Linked DNA regions of Homo sapiens: region 1 is linked to region 2. The links are contacts of gene promoters, found by promoter capture Hi-C in blood cells and fetal thymus (Javierre and others, 2016). All regions are on one chromosome and are shown on one strand. Each heading gives the region's core, a stretch centred on a gene start or on the middle of the fragment in contact. The rest is flanking DNA. Distances are from core to core; before and after follow the strand shown.

What was found. The method cuts DNA at HindIII sites, captures the fragments that hold promoters and counts their contacts. A CHiCAGO score of 5 or more calls a contact.
Region 1: a fragment that was not itself captured here is called in contact with the fragment with the promoter of ALG1 in region 2 in 1 of 17 cell types (M2 macrophages); the score reaches 6.1 in M2 macrophages.

What each region holds. Positions count from the first base shown.
Region 1 is chr16:4,867,442-4,871,830 of GRCh38, reverse strand. It overlaps UBN1 (ubinuclein 1), which reads right to left. Exons shown (of 18, transcript NM_001079514.3): 8 at 2,928-2,998; 9 at 1,490-1,619; 10 at 1,197-1,315; 11 at 859-987; 12 at 530-676. Among named protein-coding and RNA genes, the nearest start is that of UBN1, 22 kb to the right of the region's middle. RefSeq lists a silencer at 848-1,033. The HindIII fragment of the contact is 380 bases long and covers 1,925-2,304 here.
Region 2 is chr16:5,068,802-5,073,093 of GRCh38, reverse strand. It overlaps ALG1 (ALG1 chitobiosyldiphosphodolichol beta-mannosyltransferase), which reads right to left and starts at 1,251. Exons shown (of 13, transcript NM_019109.5): 1 at 1,037-1,251; 2 at 66-143. The coding sequence starts at 1,244. RefSeq lists enhancers at 792-851, 1,022-1,131, 1,162-1,221. The HindIII fragment of the contact is 10,202 bases long and covers 1-3,286 here.

The sequences.
Region 1 (4,389 bases), core at 865-3,364, 200 kb after region 2:
GCAGATCACAAGGTCAGGAGATTGAGACCATCCTGGCTAACACGGTGAAACCCCATTTCTACTAAAAATACAAAAAATTAGCCGGGCATGGTGGCAGGCACCTGTAGTCCCAGCTACTCGGGAGGTTGAGGCAGGAGAACGGCGTGAACCTGGGAGGTGGAGCTTGCAGTGAGCTGAGATCATACCACTGCACTCCAGCCCAGGCAACAGAGCGAGACTCCATCTCAAAAAAAAAAAAAAAAAAAAAAAAAAAAGGAAAGTGCATATTGAGATGGGAGGCCAAACATCAACTGAAGTGGGACAAAAAATGACAAAAACAAAACCCTGGAGGCAACTTCCCTTCCTCCAGGGAAGATCCAGAAGACCCTTTCCCAGCTACCTGCATGTCCCCCAGTTACTCAGGTGAGATCAGAGTTGAGGCAGCTAGACAGTGACTCCCTGTGAGCAAGGATCCTGTTGGCCTGGCACAAAAGCAGCGTTCAAACGTGTCTTGACTGCACAGATGCCCATCTCAGCACACGGCCCTCACCTGGCCTGCATCCAGCCTTTGGGCCAGAGGGGCTTGACTTCCGCATCCAGAAAGCCCTTCACACAGTCCTCCCAAGCCTGGGCTTTGTTGTTCCTCTCCAGGTCCTGGCTCTCCAGTTTGATCTTCACCACCTGGCACAGTAGCTCCCTGAGAAGGAGGCAGAAATCAGAAACTCCAAACTACTTCAGATGCTGCTCCAAGGTTCCAATCATGTGCTTTCAGCAGCCCTGATGAAAGTAAATGAGCCTAACCTTTGTCAGCAATAGGGGACGTGCTCAGACACTGCCCCACCAACCCTCCAAAGAGGCCAAGTCCCAGTGTGGGCACACCTGATCTCATCATTCCATTGGAACTTCTTCCGAGGTCCCATTATCCTCCTGCCCCCTTTTTCTTCATCTTCTTCCTCATCCGAACAAATCCGGTCCCTCTGCTCCTTGTCTTTCTCCTCTTCCAGCATCCTACGGGGTGAATAGAATTACATGGGGCCCCAAGGTGCTCCTGCCCACCGCCTCTCCCCTCACTCTGCACTACTGGGACTTCACAGAGAAGGAGAAAAGGCCAAAGAAGAGCCAAGAGGCTCCTTGGGAAACGGCAGTACACACCGAGAAACGGGAGGGGAAGAGGCAAGACGGGAGGGTTGCACCTGCAAGCGCCAGGACAAACTTACTTGGCAACCTTTGCCTGCGTGTGTGCCTGGCATTCGTCCTGGTACTTGGCCATCTGCTCTGGCATCGCCCTGCCAATGGCTTCCTTGAGCTTCTGGAGAGGCTCCTTCAGACGGCCCCCCTGCGAAGAGCGGGACACAATTCAAGGCAGGTTTACACATCGCTCTTACGCTCAGGACGCATGATGGGGTGATCACAAGGAGGCAGTGGGGCAGCAGACGCATCATTGCTTAAGACTCAGTCACCCCTCCGCCAGGACCCCAAAGCCAAAGGGCTTCACTCTAGAGTCACCCACCTGTTCATAGAGGTGAAGTTTCCGAGCACGCTTGAGCAGGGCATCCTTGCTGCAGGGCAGGAATGACGCAAGATAGGCATACACCCCAGAGCGGACCTGACTGCTCAGCTCCCGAGTCTGCGCCTCTATGCTGAAGAACAAAACACAGTCACCACCGGCTGCAGCTCACTGCAACTCCTGTCTTCATCAGCTCACCGTACGTGGAGAGGAAAGCTAGGAGCCAACGGCAGTCAAACCCTGTCTTGTTGGTCACACAATGTAACTGAATGCCCAAGGAAACACATCCTCAGCAATCAACAAACAACAACAACTCCCAAGCCTGATGAACATGGCTAGGTAATGTGGGCCAAGGCTCTTAGGTCACAATACCAGGAAAACAGAGCCCAGGAGAACAAGCTCTGAAGCACTAAATTTCATAGAGAAAACATGAAAGCTTTCAAAGTGGAAAGTCATGAGTTACTTGGGGTTCAAAGGAGACACTTCCCGGCAGCATTTCTTTTTTTTCCCCCAGTCCCCACGTTTATCAACCATTATGAGGTCAGGGAAAGCCTCACCCCTCCAGTTTCTCCATCTAGATAAGCAAAAAAATATTTCTCTTCAATGCCTTGAGCTGTCCACATTTGGCACGCTCAAGCAGGTTCCTTGTTGACACAATCCTATCGTCCGCACCAATGCTCAGGTGCTCTCTGCAGCTCACACTTCCTGACCCAAGGGGCCAATCCAGGTCCCGGCCAGGCGAGGCCATGTGGTAGAACACCCACATTTTGACAACTGTTCTTACACACACAAACTCCTCAGCTGTTGAGCAACAAGCTTCCCCTGCCACAAACTGCAACCAGGAGAAAAGCGGCAACACTGCAGGCCAGGCCACAAGGATTCACTTTTCCCAGTCTGGATTTACAAATGTTTGCTCATCTGTTTTTTAACCCGATTCACACAGCGTGGTGTCTCAGAGGCTCAGGCATGTGGGAACAGCATTAGGGATGATGCACGTGGCACTAGGAACAGGAGTGCCAGCGAGCGGAACAGCCAGGGACGCCAAGCAACACCCAAGGCAGAGCAGGCCCGAGGCCACCAGGCTGTCTCTCATTCTTCAGGATTCTCAGAGACAGTCAGGCAACACCTTCTCTCTCTCCTCATCTCATACCTGCCAAGAAATCCTCTTCTAACAGGCCATGATTATCACATGTTATTAATGCCTGCTGCCTAAGATCAAGGAGGTCTATCGCTTCTGGAGACAAGTACTTGGTGTCCCTGTTGTGTTTTGATTTTTAAAAGAAAAATAACAATGAAACCATGTTAATCCAATTCTTCTTTTATCTCCTTGGTGGTCACCTTTATGCAGTTCAATTGTACTCCCACTGTCCCCTAGCTGGCTTGCCCCAAGCTCAGTAATAGCAGAAACAGACAGACAGACAGACAGACAGACGATACTCACTCTAATAGGATTCCATTAATATCCTGGGTGAAGAACTTCTGTCTGCTCTCCCCCTCAGCAGCTCTGGCAGCCTGGTGCACAGCAGACAGTAACAGCCGTTAGTGCACTTTCCCCACATGTCCCTTACGCTCACCCACAGGCACAGGAGTCATCGCTCCATAAAGAGCACCTGTCAATACAGTCACACCGCCACCTTTCCAACTCCACCCTAGTCCCAGGTTAAGTTCGCCTGCGATCAATATTCTCTTTTCAAATGCTGCTGCAGCATCTGTGGGCTGCCAGTTCTTCCTGGGACTTAAAACAGTCACAGAAAAGAAAATCAGAGTCAAAGCCATCACAATGCACTTAGCCAGAGGCCAATAAGGCCAACTAACCCCTGCACCCATACACCATCAACTACACCATTAGTTGGGATTTCCATGTATCTACAGTACAAAAATATTCAAGAACTTCAACCAGTCTATAGGATTTAAAGGCCTTTTTATCTACAAAAATAATAATAATGTGTAGCTCTAACACTTAAGGACATTAAAACTCTTTGACAATTCCTAATCTACTTATGGTATACCACGAGCTCTCTATTAGCCAGACCATGTGAATAATTAACCCACCATATTACCTATTAACACCAGATTATAGGAGTTTCAGTACAGTCTTAGTTTGCTTTCGAAAAGAACACAGTTAACACACACCCTGGATGGCAAGCTCAGAGACCCCTGAAGCAACCACGGCAGGCAGCCACGACACAGCGGGAACACAAAAAAGCAGACCCTGTGGAAGTCTGCATCAGGGTTCTCACACTTGGTTGCATATTGGAATTCCCTGGGCAGCTTGGAGCAACTCAGGCCATTCAAATCACAGTCTCTGGAAAGGAGATTCAGGAATGCACACTCTCAAAAGTGGCCCAAGTACTCTTTCAAAGCAACCCTGGGAACACTGATGTGCAAAAAGGGCTGGGAACCATTCCTCTCAACCCAAGAGCTGCTGGTCTGAAGGCTTTGGGTGAAATAAAATTTCTGAAATCAGACATGATATACAGTAACGACAGCAAACAAGGGTGATAAGGTGACTATCTAGAATGAAGGGATCAACCCCTCTGAAATTGCAGACACTGCTAACCCCTCACCATCATCTCCCCCACTCACCTTCCTCTCACTGCATCCTCTGGGGCCCCTTCCAACCACTCTAACTGCTCCATCTGCCTCCTCCACCAGCTCCTTTCCATAGGCGGACCCCAGGATTCTCACTAGAACCCACTTCTCCCAATAACTTCTTTCCCCCTCAGGGCTTCAAAATAACACAGACAATTGTACACTCAAATCTAAACTAAGCCCTAAATCCTCTCATCTAAGCTCTGGACCAGAATTTCCAGTTATCTCTGAGAAATTTCCCAATTACAGTCAACGCCTGGTATAGGCAGGGGATTGGTTACAGGACCCCCGTATATACCAAAATCCAACTG
Region 2 (4,292 bases), core at 2-2,501:
TCAAACGAACACCCCCTGCCCCCAGCCCATGGATTCAGAGGATTCTGGAGTTGACGGCATCCTACCTGCAAGACTCTGAAGTTCTGTCAACCCCACAATCTGAATTCTGTTGTTCTGCAAGAGCTCATCATGGGGTTTGGAGTCTGAAAAATGAGAATGATCCCTTTAATGTACCAGAAGCAGCAATCTAAAGTCAGATAATCTCCCAACTCAGGCTGAATCACGGACAGTGTTTTGGAAAGTAAGATATTTCAAAACCTCTCTCTGCTCCTCACTAGCCAGAACAGAGAATGCGGCCAATTCTTGTTCAGATTGCTCTAGGAGGCACACAGAGATAGGGCCTGAATCTTACCTACCTTCACTTAACATGATGCCTGGCAAACAGTAGGTGCTCAATTAAACTAATCTAGATTGTCTGGATAGTGGAATTTTCCCACCACAGAGCCATCCCTAGGAAGTCCCACTCTACCCCATCACCCTAGGATAGCAGATTCTAAACAGGGATTAAAGGCAACTAGTGCTGTTCCCACTTCTTCCTGAGATGGGGTTGAGCTACCCTCTCAAGATACCAACGTGGAGAATAATGAGGGAGCAGACACCGCTGCCCTGCACACTGTGGGGAAAAGCTGGACATGAAGAACAAATGAAAACATCTGTCTGCAGAGCTCTGCGTTGAGGGATGAGGAATGAAATATCCTGTCAGCTCAGACATAGCCTGACAAGGGTAGCTGCACAGGGACGTAGCTACCAGCACTAGCCCTGGAGTTCCACGCACCTGGGTTCCACTTACTAGGAGAATTACGTGAGACCACGCAATGGATTCACTTAACACACTTCTGACACGTGGCAAGATTAACGCCGGCTATACCTAGAGACCCACCCAGGAAAGGCTGGGGCAGAACCGCTCGTCTAATCTCGGAGAGCTGCCCAAAGGCGGCGACTAAAGGAGCACTTCCGCCTCGACTCCCCGGGGCGGTTAGAACCGAGGATCAACGGCTGAGAGAGCATCGTCCCTCCCAGACCCTTGGCCACTCACTGCAGAACCCCAGGAGGGTCACCGAGAAGCCGTGCATGGCCAACGACAGCGCGTGGTACTGCATACGGGGGCTGCGGCCCACGTCGCCCAGCACCACCGCTACTACATGCCGGGCCGCCCGCCCCCGGCGCCAGCGCTTCCATCCTCCCAGCAGCAGCAGCGGCAGCAGCAGACACAGCGCCAGCAGGACCAAGCATGAGGCCGCCATCTTGGCTGGCCCGCAGCAGTCACGTGACCGCGCTTCCTCGCGCTGTGCGCAGCCGCAGACCGAGCCTCCGAAGTGGGCCGAGAGGGCGAGAAGTGGACGCGGTTCCCTAACAGGGGCCCGGGGAACCCCCAGGAGCCCCTCGGGGCCAAGAATTAGTAGTAGTAGGACACACGCACATACACCAGATTCCCTACACACCAGTGTATTTCCCCGACTAAAGTAAAGCTGTTACTGTATTGGGATCTAAGAACTCTCTTCAGGATTCAAAGATAATTTCAAAATATAGTGACACAAGAATTTGGATAAATTTCATCCTAACATTGATAAAGGAGCCAGATGCTGACGAGTACGAATTGTAGAGTTCCGTCTATGTAAATAAAAACCAGTCCTCGCTGTTAGAAGTTAGGGGCTGGTGGGTTCTGCTTCTGGATCTGGTGCTGGTAATGTGGGTGTGCTGCATTTGGGGCGGTACCTCAAGCAGCAGATTACCTGCCCATTTTCCAGGGTGTACATCACACTTAATAAAACATTTAAAAGGTAGAGAGGGGGAAGGACAAACAAGGAAGTAAACACCATCATGATTTTGCTTAAGTATCAATGGCTAGAAAGGAAATTTCCACAGTGACCCTCCAATTTCACCTCCCAAAGTAGCCATAGTGAGAGTTTAATGTGTGTCTCTGCGATGGCCTGTATTAGTCCGTTTTCATGCTGCTGATAAAGACATACCCGAGACTGAGCACTTTACATAAGAAAGAGGTTTCATGGACTTACAGGTCCACATGGCTGGGAAGGCCTCACCATCATGGCAGAAGGCAAGGAGGAGCAAGTCACCTCTTACATAGATGGCAGCAGGCAAAAAGAGAGCTTCTGCAGGAAAACTCCTTTTTATAAAACAATCAGGTCTCGTGAGGCTTATTCACTATCACGAGAACGGCACGGGAAACACCTGACCCCATGATTCAGTTACCTCCCACTGGGTCCCTTCCACACAACACATGGGAATTCAAGATGAGATTTGGGTGGGGACACAGCCAAACCGTATCATGACCTTTTTTCTTTGAAAGCGGTCCCTTGCAGAGAAACACCAAGAGCTCACTGGTGATGCTACCCCATTGCCTCCACTTGGGAGCTGCCGCAGAACCTGGAGAGCCACCACCCAGACCGTATTCAACAAACAAACAAGACTCCTCCCCTGATGAGGACCACAGGCAGCACCCACGGGACAGGGTAGCCCACATGGATGTGGCTCCCCAGTGTCCCTGGGCTCAGCTCAGGGCTTGGCACACTTTGCATCTGCTTTTCACAATTGCCCCATCACTCCCTTTCTATGGATTCAGAAGGGACAGCTCACGCCTTAAGCCAGACCTTGAAACCCGAGCTTTCAGAAGGAAAGGAAGGACGAGTAAGTATCTGCAGACAGCAGGGATGGGCATACAAACATGCTGGCAGCGGCATTTATCCTCCAGTTCCCAGCGAGGCCCCTGCCTCCAGGTTGCGTGTGCTGGGGTGGAGGCCTGTGACACATCGCCTGCCCAACTCTGTCGACGCTCTGTAATGGGACAGGTAGGGATCTGGGACCTCAGCCTCAGGACTCCTGGCTTTCCTGCTCCACCTCGGGCGAGTCACTCCCCATCAATTTGCTTTCTTCGTCTGTGAATTAAGGGAGGGGAACTTCAAGTCTTTGAGAGCCTGTCCTGCTCTGATGAGCTAAGAGGATAAAGACTATGGTGATGACAAACCAAAAGTAGATGCCTCCCTCTGGTAGGTGAACCTCCGTCGGGGAGGGAGTTGCCGTGGTGTCTCCTGGAGAGAGGGGACGGAGCCATCCCCAGCAGGGGGGCGGTTTCATAGCTGGGCCAGCCCACCTGTCCGGCTTTCTCACTTGGCATCCATTCCACATGAGATCCAGTCTTTCCAACAATCAAGAGGATATATGGATAAGTCACTCAATCTCCCTTGGAGCCTCAGATTTTGTTCAAGTTGACTGAGCACCCACTTGAGGGGTGATCAAGGATTAACAGAAGTAATGACAATGACAAGCTTCCCCTAGAACCTCTGTTCCCAGTGGTGCTCCCAAGGGGGCAAAAATGGCTCTTGGGGAGCAAAACATCCTTACCCTTTTTATGTATAAAGCACAGATAATGATACAATACACAAGCATGCAGTATATCTGCAGTATTAAAATTTTATGAAGGCTGAAAGCAGTGGCTCATGCCTGTAATCCCAGCACTTTGGGACGCTGAGGCGGAAGGATCACTTGAGCCCAGGAGTTCAAGACCAGCCTGGGCACCATAGTGAAACCCCATCTCTACAAAGAATACCCAAAAAATGGTGGTGGCGTGTGCCTATAGTCCCAGCTACTCGGGAGACTGAGGTGGGAAGATCACCTGAGCCCAGGGAGGTCGAGGCTGCAGTGAACCATGATCATACCACTGCACTCCAGCCTAAGTGACAAAGCGAGACCCTGTCTCAAAAAAATAAACAAGTAAAATAAAATTTCATGGGGCAGTACATAAGGAACCCTCATCTTCTGCCAGTGGGCACGTAAATGGCCCAGCCACTGTGGAAAACAGTCGTATGGTCCCTCATTAGGTTCAACATAGAATTATCACGTGACACAGCAATGGCATTCCCACGTATACACCCAGGAGAATGAAAAACAGGTTTTCGAACAAAAACTTGTAAACAAACATCAGTACTGTCCACAAGAATCAAATCATGGAAACAATCCAGAGGCTCATCAGTGGATGAGTGATGAACAGAATGCGGTCTGTCCACAGCTCCCACAGCCTCCCACCCGAGGTTTCCCAGGTGTCTCCTTGTTTGCTTGTTTGTTTGTTTGTTTTGAGATGGAGTCTCACTCTGTCGTCCAGGCTGGAGTGCAGGGGTGCCGTCTCGGCTCACTGCAACCTCCACCTCCCAGGTTCAAGTGATTCTCCTGCCTCAGCCTCCCTAGTAGCTGGGATTACAGCCCTGCACCATCACGCCTGGCTAAGTTTTGTATGTTTAGTGGAGTCGGGGTTTCACCATGTTGGCCAGGATGGTCTC